2 separate regions of the Homo sapiens genome follow, and region 2 is linked to region 1. The links are contacts of gene promoters, found by promoter capture Hi-C in human tissues and cell types (Jung and others, 2019). All regions are on one chromosome and are shown on one strand. The core of a region is centred on a gene start or on the middle of the fragment in contact, and the rest is flanking DNA. Distances in the headings are between cores, read along the strand shown.

Evidence for each region. Contacts are between HindIII fragments. The study calls those that stand out against the background at their distance.
Region 2: a contact is called between a fragment that was not itself captured here and the fragment with the promoter of FAXC in region 1, in 1 of the 25 tissues and cell types used here (H1 embryonic stem cells).

The regions. Positions count from the first base shown.
Region 1 is chr6:99,344,217-99,351,287 of GRCh38, reverse strand. It overlaps FAXC (failed axon connections homolog, metaxin like GST domain containing), which reads left to right and starts at 1,614. Exons shown (of 6, transcript NM_032511.4): 1 at 1,614-2,181. The coding sequence starts at 1,916. RefSeq lists silencers at 1,265-1,344, 1,405-1,454, 1,525-1,584 and enhancers at 2,776-3,340, 4,231-4,731, 4,732-5,232. The HindIII fragment of the contact is 6,681 bases long and covers 1-5,866 here.
Region 2 is chr6:99,508,287-99,514,573 of GRCh38, reverse strand. USP45 (ubiquitin specific peptidase 45) reads left to right here. Exons shown (of 18, transcript NM_001346022.3): 2 at 4,344-4,453; 3 at 5,792-5,964. The coding sequence starts at 4,354. Among named protein-coding and RNA genes, the nearest start is that of USP45, 4.0 kb to the left of the region's middle. RefSeq lists an enhancer at 1-143. The HindIII fragment of the contact is 6,905 bases long and covers 1-5,796 here.

The DNA.
Region 1 (7,071 bases), core at 365-2,864:
TTGTAGTCAGTGGCTTTCTGGGATAAAAATACTACACTTCCTCTGGGTTCTAACTTGTTTTGGGCATAAGGTTTGTCAGGATTGACTCTCCCTTTTGCCTTCCATATTCTTCCACTTAAGGTAATTTATGCCCATCCCCATGTCTAGACCTAGATATGCAAATAATGTGATCCCAAATATCAAACTTATATTCTTTAAATATTGGCTCAGTGTTCACTGAGAGCAAAGACTGAGTGCTCTGTGGGAAGGGCACAGAAGGAGCATGGAGAATCCCTGGTGCCAGCCCTCCTTGTTCCCTCTTCCAGAGCACTGCAGCTTTGGTCCCAGACTTAACTACTCTGCTTCTTGCCGACAAGGCCAGGCAGCCTTCTGGCCTCTCTCCTTGAAAGACCGGCTGGTGACCACCTCAGTCACCCCAGGAGGCCGTTGGGTTTCACTCCTTGCAACCTACTTATGGGAGCCTCACTTAGAACCACACACATTACTTCTTCCTGGGAGGTCACATTTTCCCAGGAGTGTTTGGGGAGTCTCACATGCTGGTGCCTAGGCATCAGCTGACTAGCCCCTCCCCCCGTCTCGTTGAGGCGACACGTCCATATTTATTATTTATTAACAAGACGACCACACTCCTTGCCTGTTCTAAGGGGCGGGTGTGTCAGGAGAGGAAAAAAAGGGGGAGTCCTTTTGCGCCTCAATCTCTGCTCCATAGGCAAGAGCCTGGAGGTTTCTTTTACCCATCCTTCCACCTTGAGAGTGATGAACCTCCACGGCCCGAATCCTTTTTCAGTTCTTCCAAACAATTTAAAACTATCCATGCTCTTGTTAAAATCTGTGCATATATTACAAGCTTCTATTCTTTGTACTTATGAACTTTAATAAATGAAGTTAAAGGAAAAAAATACACTGAACACACACACAGTTGTTAGACAGATTTTCTAAAACAAAAGAGGGACCCCCGTCCCCCAACCGAAACCCTGTATCAGCGAGTTCCCTGATAGTGACTTCAAAGAGGAAAGACTTGAACTGGGTTTGTCAGAGAAATCTCTCTAGGTAGAGTATTTTGTTATTTGCCAAACCAGACATCTCGTCTCTGCGAACACCTGGTCAAGCCCGAGGTAATTGTGTAATGTAATAAGAGTGTTTTTATACATTATGCAAATACGCAGCGCTTTCCTGATGGCCAGAACAATCTGATTCCCGACTTTAATCCTGGCCCACGCTCCCAGCCCCCGCCTGGTGGCGTCTCCTGCCCGCAGCTCCGCGCCGCCCCAGGTGAGTCCTGCGCGTTCCCTACTCTGGGGCCCGCGGGAGGGGCTGGAGCGCAGGCGGAGGGCCGGCCGGGGTAGGGGAGGACCGGGATCCGGGCCCCGACTGCAGCTTCCTCGCGGTGGGGCCGCATTTCCAGGCACCTCCGCCGCCCTTGCCCGCGCGCGGCGAGCGGTTTTTGGGCGTGCCGCCCGGAGGCGCGGAGCCTGCCCGGCGCGCCTCAGCCCTGCAGATCCGGCCCCGGCGGAGGCGGCCGGACCGCGGAGATGCGGGGAGGGGGCAGGGCGCGGGGTAGGTGACTTTATCCCGCCTCTGTTTCCCTGCCCCGGGGAGCAATGACATCACGCGGCCTTCTCCAGGCGCCGACACAAAGAGCGGGGCGGAGAGGCAGCTGCGGGGGGAGCCGGCGGCCGCTGCTGCCGCCCAGGGCTCTGGGGCCCCGCCGGCCAGGCCCGCCGTCCGCGGCCAGTGCCCTTCCTCCTCCTCCTCCTCTGCCGCCGCCTCCTCAGTCGCCGCCGCCTCCTCAGTCGCCGCCGCCCGCGCCGCCCGCGCCCTCCGCGCGCCTCTGAGCCCGCGCCGGGCCGCGCCGGCCCCTTCCCATGCGGGCGGCGCGGGCCCTGGGAGGGGCGCCCGGAGCCAGCCGCGCAGCATGCACTGGGGGGTTGGCTTTGCTTCGTCCAGGCCGTGCGTGGTGGATCTGAGCTGGAACCAGAGCATCTCCTTCTTCGGCTGGTGGGCCGGGTCCGAGGAGCCCTTCTCCTTTTATGGGGACATCATCGCTTTCCCTTTGCAGGATTACGGTGGGATCATGGCAGGGCTGGGCTCCGATCCCTGGTGGAAGAAAACCCTTTACTTGACCGGGGGAGCTTTGCTGGCCGCAGCTGCGTATCTGCTCCACGAACTCCTGGTCATTAGGTGAGCCGGAGAGAGGGCCCCGCACAGGGGCGCAGAGAGGGGCACCTGGCTAGGGCAGGGCTGGCGCGAGAGGGGCCCGTGCCAGCCCCTCGGTCAAGCTGCCCAGATGCCCAAGCGCCCTGCAATTACCTTTCCCTAAAGGCATTTGTGGTCACCTGGCCGTGAGGGGCAGTTTAGAGTTGAAAGGAGAATTAAACCGGTGCTGGGAGGGAAAAACATTTGTCTCCCAAAATGCTCTGGGTCACTTGTCGTTATCTATTAAGAAATGGCCTTAGGAGGATCTAAGTGCAGTGTGTTTGCAACAATAGAATTGGGCCCTGCAGAAATAGGTTACACTTTTATGAAATGCCTTGTTTATAAGTAATAATGCTGGAATATTAACTGCTAACCTTATCTTTTACCTAAAGGTTAGTTCTTCCCTAAATGTCAACATCAAAAGACTGAAAAATTGCAAAAGCTCCAGAAACCTGCGGGTCCCTGTTAAAGATGCATGACCAAGTGTAGTGGTGGGCAGCTTTGATGCAGCCTTAACCTGGTTCTCTGCTTATCTGGTATTGAACGCCAAGCACCATCTTCAGGCTTAGATGTCATTGTTGTGTGAGCAGTAGGACAGGCTAGCACATGGGTGTGTTGGGCACAACACGGAGTCGCCCAGTGCCGTAAACAGTTGCATCCGCTGCCGCAGAATGTTTACAAGATTGAGTTGGAAATACCAGAAAATGGAGGCCCCTGCTGTTGGTACATCCAGCCGGGACGAGATTTTTGTTTGGGTAGAGTAATACCACAGGGCACTGAGACAGTCGTTTGGCTAATTGATACATCAATTAATGGTTAAAATTTCCATGCATTTGAGCCTTCCGTCACTGGAAGATTACCAGAAGCCCAGTTTTCAATAGCTCAGAATGTCTCTTTGCCAGTATTTTCTAAAGTGAGAGAAATGTGTCCACACTGCCTTATTCCAGTGGAGGAATCCTACACAATAGGTTATAAACAAAGACAGTGATAGGTGACCTGTACTAGCCTGCAGGGATCCCAGGAGATTATTGTGATGGCCTAATGTAGGCATTTGGCCTAACGTACATATTTTGAATAGTTCCCATCTCTGAAAGGGTGGGAAATCATTTAGGTTTGGAGAAATGTATTGGTTTTCATATTATTTAGCCATATTTGAGGAAGTTTATTTTAAGCTTGTTGCACATTTAATTCTCTCAACACATTGCCTTGAATCTAGCTGAACCAAACAAAAAAATTTAAAGAGAATTATCTCTCTAGATTATTTGTTAATTGTGCTAGTTTTAGAACTGTATTTCAAGTTAGATTTCAAGCTACCTAAAGAACTAAAACATTTGGGCAGTAATTTAAATGGTAACCCAGTTGTTTCTCAGTTGTATTCTAGTCTAAAGCCTTTGAGGAGATCCCAAACCATGAGGCTTCTCAGCAGTGGAGGGAGTGAAGGCTTCACAGGACCAAGTTTAAAACAAAGCTTAAATGACCTTGCAGAAACAGTGTGGAGCTCAGCTGCCACTCCGGAGTAGGCCCTGCCCTGGCAGGTGTTGTCACTGGAGACTGGAGAGCTCTCTGCCCACAGATAGCTACTAACTCATTTAGGGGACTATATACCTCAGCACTGGATGCTTATTTGGACTAAGGAGTTTAATCCTAGGTTGATTCACACTTTTTCTTCCTTTTTTTTTTTTTTTCTTTTGAGACTGAGTCTCGCTTTGTCGCCCATGTTGGAGTGCAGTGGCTCGATCTCAGCTCATTGCAACCTCCACCTCCCTGGTTCAAATGATTCTCCTGGCTCAGCCTCCTGAGTAGCTGGGATTACAGGCGTGCACCACCGCGTCTGGATAATTTTTGTATTTTTAGTAGAGATAGGGTTTCACCGTGTTGGCCAGGCTGCTCTTGAACTCCTGGGATCAAGCGATCCTCTGGCCTCAGTCTGCTGAGTTGCTGGGATTACAGGCATGAACCATTGCACTTGGCTAATTTTTTTTTTAACTTTTTTGTGGAGATGGGGTCTCACTATGTTGCCCAGGCTTGTCTCAAACTCCTGGCCTCAAGAAATCCTCCCTCCTTGGCCTCCCAAAGTGTTGGGTTTATAGGTGTGAGCCACCATACTTGGCCAGTTTTGTTTCTGGACAAATGTTTGAGTTGAATTAGAAAGCTCTGAAGTAATGCAAACAATAAAAAAGGGCTATTTCTGAATACTTAGTAGGATGGGCTTTGCATGTGTGACTGCATTTATTCCTCACAACTGTTGTTTGTTCATTTCATAGATAAGGAAATTGCAGCTCAGGGAGGTTAAGCAGCTTGCCCAAGATCACACAGTAAGAGTAGTAGGATCTAGATTCAAATCAGAGCCTGCAGTTTTTAACCACTGCCTCTTAGAAAGTACCTACTTTGGCCCGGCGCGCGGCAGCTTACGCCTGTAATCCCAGCACTTTGGGAGGCTGACGCGGGCGGATCACGAGGTCAAGAGATCGAGACCATCTGGCCAACATTGTGAAACCCCGTCTACTAAAAAACAAACAAAAAAACCCCACAAAAATTAGCCTGGCGTGGTGGCACGCGCCTGTAGTCCTATAGCTACTCGGGGAGCTGAGGCAGGAGAATCGCTTGAACCCAGGAGGCGGAGGTTGCAGTGAGCCGAGATGGTGCCACTGCACTCCAGCCTGGCGACAGAGCGAGACTCCGTCTCAAAAAAAGTACCTACTTTGAAATCCGTTTTGTTGGAGGAAGAGGAAGGAAGAGAAATGTGGAGAACTGAAGCATTGCTCAGGGAAGACAGACCTGTATCAGGTGCCTTTCTTGCAGCGTCTAGGGGAAGAGGAGTGGAGGGGCAAAGGGAAAAAAACCAGGCAGGAAGGTCAAAGACCAAGGCTTTAGAGGTTACATGATAACTACCTCCACTTAAGGTGAAATCTAGGTTTCAATAGTCTTTATAATTTAGGCAGAAAACAAAACAAAATCTGAAATATGTAAGATAGAAAATACACCTTAAAATGACTACCCTGAGTTTCTGGCTATTGCAAACTCTTCCCCAGCCTACTTGGATTTTCTGCTGCATAGACATAACCTTAATCTATGACTGTGTCTCTAGAGTGGAAGAGTAAAGTTGACAGGTGAGAATTACTTAGGAAGTTTAATTAATGAATATAACTGAAGTAGGTTTTTGGGGTTTTATCCATGTTTTTTAGCACCATATTTTAAAATAAATATTGTTCCAACACACTACTTTGTTTTCCCTGAGTGGAGATAGCTTGGCAGCTATCTTAAATTCAATCAGGCTTTGGAAATTTTTGTTTGTAAATTGAATGACTAAGTACTAACTTCATTACCAGTGCTTATTTGCACTTTTGACACACGGGCTCAGCCTCTTCTAGAGCATTTAGTTGGCGAATCAACATCTGATCTCTGCAAACTAACAAATCATCAGCTGTATACAGAGGCATGTTCATCTGTGGTATCGTTAGCCCCGGGAATAGTAGTAAACTAGCTAGTTAATGCTCTATGGCTGTCCTCTTATATAAACCTTATGGTAAGATCACTTTATAAAATATAGCTGTACAGGGAACAACCTACCCAAACCTCTGATCCTAAATTAGAGAGGAGTTTCTGACATGTTGGAGGGAGGGCTCTGGTGCCAGACTGTCTGCGTTCAAATTCAGACTCTGTCTGTAACCAACCACATAACCTTGGATATGACAGTAAGCTCTTGATGACTCAGTTTTCTCATCTGTAAAATGGTAATAGTAGTAGTAGCTTTTCTCATAGCATTGATTAAATGAGATAACACGTGACATGCTTAGAACAGAGTTTGTCAAGGTGAAAATTCAATAAAACTTGGCCATCATTAGCTGTGACTTTTATCAGAAAGTTTCAGGCTTCAGTGGTCTAAGTCAAACTGGCAGTTTTAATACGATTAACCGAGGAATTGCCCATTTTGGTGACCTTGAAGTGCTTAAGAGCATGGAAACGAGTTATTTCAGAGTCAATCTTAAATTGATGTTCCTTAGGCAAGTTATTTAACGTCTTTGAGCTTCAATTTTCTTATCTACTATAAAATAGTATAATATGATATCCCAAATTTAAACTGTAACAGTACCCATTCTAAAGTGTCATTGTCAGAATTAAATAAGTTAACATATATAATATATATAAAGTCATTAGCATATGCTTGGTAGATAATTAGCCTCCATTCTTACCATGACATGGCCCAAATTAACAATTAGAATTAGATCGTTCTGGCTGATGGAGCAGGGATTTTTTGTTTGTCTCCTCTCCTGTCGGTTCTGAAATTTGTGTCTGTTAATTTACATGAAAATACCACTTTGTGATGGGAATTATTTGACTGGACAAAATCAGTTAATTGTCAGATCTATAGTTTGTGCTGTCTTGGAACATTGTCTAAATGAGTTCTTGATTTTAATACCTGACTTCTCGAACATTCCATTTAAATGAAAACATTTCTTTTATAGTTAATATTGCCAGAAAGCAGCAATTTTTTTTTTTTACTTGACATATTTTCAAAATGAGTCATTCTGTACTGTGAAGTTGAGTGGGCCCTTGGGTGGTAAACTTTTCAAGAGAGTTTGTTTTACTAAATGGGGATCTGCAGGAAGTGGGCATCCATGTGATGAAGATACAAAGAGCTTGTTCTTGCTTAGGTAGAAAGAAGGGGGTGTGGTGTTGTACTGGGAACAATGCGAGGGAACCAGAGGCTCAGGCAGGGCCAAGGGGAAGGAAGAGTGAAGTTTATCTGACTAGAAATCAGCTGGGTCAAATGAAGATGGAAATTGCAAAAGGGTCCCGAGGAGTGGGGTATGAGTGGGGCTGTGTGGAATGATGAGCTTGCAGGGATGAGACCATATCTCTTTGGATGGGGAT
Region 2 (6,287 bases), core at 1,095-3,594, 160 kb before region 1:
GTGATGGTGACTTGAAAACTGTAAAGTTTATTGTTTGGAAAACCGCATGAGAAAAATGGCCAGAACATATTTGTGCTAAAAAGAGTTAACATAGCAGGCCTTAAGACTGCTATCCTTAGAAAGGACTGCTTGCAATGTTGGTGCTTGTTTGGCATCTGGGAACTTAGATTTTTGGGTTTGTGCTGAACAGTATGTTTTATGCCGAAATTACCAGCTTCTGTAAAAATCCGGGACACCAAGTCTTTAATGGGCTTCCCTGCGCGGAAACTGCTGCATTTTCACTGATGGAGGAAGGATGTGTTTTGTTTGACCCCTCTTGGGAGGGAGACCGCATAAGGAGCCTACACGTGATTCCTCCAGACTCCGCTTGTGTCTTTTTCTATTATGATGAGCCTTTATATCCATACTGCATTGTGTAATAAATGTCAGCCATGAATTCAACTATATGTTGAGTCCCGTGCATCCTATCAAAGCTCTAAATGTGGGGGAGATCACGGAGATCCTCAGCCACAGTTTTGTAAATTTGTATAAAGGTAAGGGATATAAGTGCCGTTTTTTTACGAGGATATATTTCCTAGTGGTACTGGGCTTTTAGTGTAACCATCACCTGAATAATGTACATTGTGTCCATTAAGCAATTTCTCATTCCTCACCCCACTCCCATCCTTCCCAGTCTCCAGTGCCCAGACACAATTTTGATGATAAAAAGTATTGGAAGCTCTAATAATTGGACTTTTAATTTTGCCCTTTTGCCTCAAATGGAAATTGGAAAACTACAGATAAATAATTGCCGAATTCTGGGTTACTGTACCAAATGATTCTGTCTGTTTAGACATTACATATGGCAGAAAAATCATCAGAAATTGCCTCTACATTACCAAGTTAATTTTGAGTCAGTGTTTTTGAAAAAAGGCACAGGTTGCTTACAGTATGTAGGTCAAATGCCTGGTTTTGTTTATTATTTTGCTAGCATTATCTGTGTTAATGCTCATCTTTATCAAGAGCTTATCTGTACCACAGCGAGAAAATATAATCAGTTTCTCATAGGCCATTTTCCCTGTACTTTATTAGTTATACCTATCTCTTTTCAGGACATCAAATTTAAATTGATGGAGGTAGGTTTGCAAATTTGGGGTTAGAAAGATCAAATTTGCCGTCTGCTTATGTCTCTTTTCCCTTATAAAAGACTAGATCAGTTTTTGGTAAGTTAGTTGGGAGTTGGAGGGGTTAGAGGTTTGAGGAAAGTGAAGAAGATTTGAAATGGCTCTGTGGATAGTATGTAAGTTGACCAGAAGGTGAAGTGAATAATAATGGACCTAGTCTGCTTTCTTAAGAGACTTTCTCCCGACATGGAGAAAATGGTTAATTGGGTTCATCTAGGATTGGGTTCTGCGAGAGAGGTGATGTAGTCCTTAAGGCTCTGCACAAGTATTCCGGTTCACCTATTTTTGGGTACATGTAATGCTGCACTCTTTGTACATGGGCAACCCCTCTCCATGTCTGCTTGAAGTTAAATGTGCCATGTGACTTGCTTTAGGAAGCAGCTCTCCATTTGCCATTTCCACTTCTCCCTGCCCTGCTGTAAGGGTCATGGAAGGACTTGTTGAGATGCAGCCTCTTGTCAGCCTGGACACTATAGGAAAATATGAGTGGCTGATCAGGCAAGTTGGAAGAACTGGGAAGTTGCTGTCAGAGAAGGGGATACTTAAATTAGTGATTTTATAAGGTGGAACTGTAGGGGAGAGTAGATGAGGAAGTTTGGAGGGAGAAGGTAGAGATGAAGTGCTCAAGGAACTCAGAGGCTTTTTACATGTTCCTAACCCGGAAGCCCTTAATTTATTGCAACTTAGTTCAGTAGTGATGACCGTTGGACTTAATGGTAAACTTGAAAGCTCCCTTATTGTGAATTATGGAATGAATAAATCAAGATTTGGAATTTAGTACTGAATTGAAAGATTCATTACCTTGATCATTGAGAAGTAAGTCAGCAACCATGAAAATTGCGATGTTGCTTAGCCACCAGGCAGGAGAGTAAAAGGTAGGCCAAGCTACTCTAACAGAGACTCCAAAATATAGTAGTTTTAAAAAATGCTTAGCTTGTATCTAAAATCTTTGATAATTAACTGAATTTTTAATAAATATAAGGGATAGAGGTAAATAACACTATGAAGAAAGAGACAAATTCAGTGTGAGACATTATATAACTTTGCTGTCGAAAGAGTATTCTATGGGCCCCCAGCAGTGGCTTCAGTTAGAAGCTTTTTAGGTAGGTAGAATCTCAGGTCTTGTGCCAGACTTGTTGCATCAGAACTTTCATTTTAACAAGACCCTCAAGGTGACTCATGCACTGGCCTGATCTCTTTAAAAAGCTAAAGTCTTAGGCAAGTAACAGGTTGGAAGAACTGTTCTGTTAATAGATTAAAAGATACTAAAGAGACATAACCAATATCAAGTGCAAACCTTGATTGAATCTTTTTCAAAAAACCAGCTATAGAAGACAATTTAGGGTCAACTAAGGAAATTAGAATATGATGGAATATGAGATGATATTAGAAAATTATTAATTTTCTTAGATATGATTACATTGTTATATAGGAGAATGTGCTTATTTTTAAGAGATACATGCTGAAGTATTTAGGGATGAACTGTCAAGATCTCTACAACTTTCAAATAGTTCAACTATGTGTATATATATATATATATATATATATATATATATATATATATACACACACTCACATACATATATGTGTCTCTCTATACACACATATTGATATTTAGATAAAAACAAACATAGCTAATTGTTAATAGGTGTGGAATTGGTGGGGCACCATGGCTCATACCTGTAATCCCAGCAGTTTGGGAAGCCAAGGCATGTGGATTGCTTGAGCCCAGGAGTTCGAGACCAGCCTGGGCAACATGGGGAAATCCCATCTCTACTAAGAAATACAAAAAAATTATCTGGGCATTGTGGTGTGCACCTGTAGTCCTAGCTACTTGGGAGGCTGAGGTGGGCGTATCACCTGAGCCTGGGGAGGTTGAGGCTGCAGTGAGCTGAAATCAGGCCACTGCACTCCAGCCTGGGCCATCAGAGTGAGACTTTGTCTCAAAAAATAATAATAGCCGGGCACGGTGGCTCACGCCTGTAATCCCAGCACTTTGGGAGACTGAGGTGGGCGGATCACGAGGTCAGGAGATCGAGACCATTCTGACTAACACAGTGAAACCCTATCTCTACTAAAAATGCAAAAAAAATTAGCCAAGCCTGGTGGCACACGCCTGTAATCCCAGCTACTTGGGAGGCTGAGGCAGGAGAATTGCTTGAACCCAGGACGTGGAGGTTGCAGTGAGCCGAGATCCATCTCAAAATAATAATAATAATAATAATAGTAATAATAATATAAATGTGGAATCTAATTAGTATATGAGTGTTCATTATACTGTTCTTTTAACTTTTGTAGATGTTTAAAATTTTTCATGATAAAAAGCTAGAGTGAAAAACCCCCAAAAATGTAGTAGCTTAAAAAGATAGAAATTTAATTTTCTCTTAATATTCCAGTGCTAGTTGTACAACACAGGTATAGAGTGGCTTTACTATGCTTGGCTTACAGCTATCCATTTTTGATCCAGTATGGCTCATCCAGCTCCTACTATTTCCTTGCTAGCAGAAGGGAGGAAAGGGTAAAGAGAACTCATTATCCAGAAGCAATACTTACTCCGTTGATGAAAACTTTAGTTTTGGTCATTCACCTGGACATCATATATTTAGGGGTTGTGTCTTGGTTCAGCCTGGTATAGCAAATTATTATAGACTGGGTGGTTTAAACAACACAGACTTATTTCTCACAATACTGGGAGCTGGGAAGTACAGGGTCAAGATGCTGGCAAATCTAGTATCTGGTGAGGGCCTTCTTCCTGGTTTATAGATGGCCATCTTCTCGTATATCCTCATGTGGATACAAAGGTAGCTTTCTAGCCTCTTATTATAAGAGGCCAGTCTCATTCATGAGGGCTCCACCTACATGACCTAATTACCTCTCAAAGGCTTCACCTCCAAGTATCATCACTTTGGGGATTAGAGTTCAACATATCAATTTGGAGTGGGGACACAAACATTTAGTCCATAATGGTATAGTTGGCAAAAGCCAATGGAATATACCATGTGTATACTGATTTAACAAAGATTTATTTCATTTCAAGTGATGTTCCCCTCTTCTTCCTCTGTTGATTTCCCGGACCAGTTGAAATTGAAGTCATTTCAGTTTTAATACACATTAAATAAAATATAAAATTTTAATTTTGAAGACTAAAATGTATGAATTTTTTTCCCTCAATCCCTTCAGTAAATAACAGATGCGGGTGAAAGATCCAACTAAAGCTTTACCTGAGAAAGCCAAAAGAAGTAAAAGGCCTACTGTACCTCATGATGAAGACTCTTCAGATGATATTGCTGGTAAATTGTGATATATGGCATCCCAAATAGTGTTGAGAAGAAATAACAATGCAGTTGACCCTTCAACAACATGGGTTTGAACGCTGAGGATCAACTTGTACACAAATTTTTTTCCACCAAACCTAGATGGAAAATACACTATTCTTGGGATGCGTGAAAACTGCATACTTGGCAGGCTGACTTCTAAATGCAGATTCCACGGGGCCCACTGCGGGACTTGAGTATGCACAGATTTGGGTATATGTGGGGAGGTCCTAGAACCAACTACCCCACCCCACCTCCCTGCCTCAAGTATCTGAGGGAAGACTGTATATGTTTTTAATTAAGAAATCTGTTACTCTTTATTTTTACTGTTTTCTGCATAAATATTAGAATCACCTTTTCTAGTTCCAAAAAATCCTGTTGGCATTTTTATTAGGATTTTGTTTAGTTTATAACATGAAGTAACTTAGATTGGCTTTTTTTTTTTTTTTGGTCTCTTTCTCATGGCCTATTAAAACCATGTCACCAAGCCACCAGAGCTTGGCAGATGGCTTTTGGGAGCTGCTGGCCTCAGGGCTTGGTTTTCTCTTTAGCCTCATGCTTTTGATTTGGGCCTCTGAGGATTTTCCTCACTTTCTTGCTAGTTCTCTCCATTTAAAGGGATATTTTTAATATATTTTTTCCATTTTAGGTATGCATAGTTGCATACAGCTATACACAAACACACTCACATATGAGTGCCTATGTCTTCTGAAATCCGAATAAGTTCTAAGGATTGTACCAACGTCAGCTTCCTGGTTTTGATATTTTACTATAGCAGTGCAAAACATTAACATCAGGGGAGGCTCAGTGAAGGGTGAATGAGACCTCCTTGTATATTTCTTTATACCTTCCTGTGAATCTAAAATTAGTTCAAAAATTTAAACTCTAATAAATTAGGGACATCAGATAAGGTCCTAATGATATTTAAAGAGATAATTCAGACATCCTTCAGTGCAGCAAACTGGCTATCGAAACATCATCCCATTTTAGTACATGTATAGCTTTGTATAACCACCACCAATCAAGATACTTGACTGTGTCATCACCACTCTATGTGCTGTCCATTTATAGCAACACCCTCTGCCTTGCGTCCATTGCTCCCTACAACCATGAATCTCTTCTCATTCTATAATTATGTTATTTCATGAACATTATATAAATGGAATTATATAGCATATATCTTTTGAGTTATTTTGTGTGTTCAATCTCTGTGCTTTTTAGTTAACAGCATTTAATACTTTTGAGGTTTGCTCAGTAATGGTAGCACTTTGGTGTAGCAAAGAAAATGTTGAGATTTTGTTTTATCTTATTCAGTAGGTTTAACTTGCCAACATGTAAGTCATGCTATCAGCGTGAATCATGTAAAGAGAGCAATAGCTGAGAATCTGTGGTCAGTTTGCTCAGAATGTTTAAAAGAAAGAAGATTCTATGATGGGCAGCTAGTACTTACTTCTGATATTTGGTTGTGCCTCAAGTGTGGCTTCCAGGTAAGAAAAGTATTATTTATATGTGAGTTTGTCTGAAATGTTTTCCTTAAATGCTTATTGTGAGTTGGACTGTTGGTCATGCATAGGAGTTAAGATAAATTTATTCCAATTTAGATAGAAATTTTCCAGGAATGAACTTAAAAATGATTGTTAAGGTAAAGTAAAAGGTATGCTATGTTCAGAAAGTAATCAGGTGTGGTTTATAAATACTTGCAGAGGTAATTCAACCTATTTGCAGTAGTTCCCATATCTGGACCAGTCTTTACCTTTTGTATTTACTTAGGAAATGGATCTACCTTTCAGATTAATTTTTTTCTCTCTCA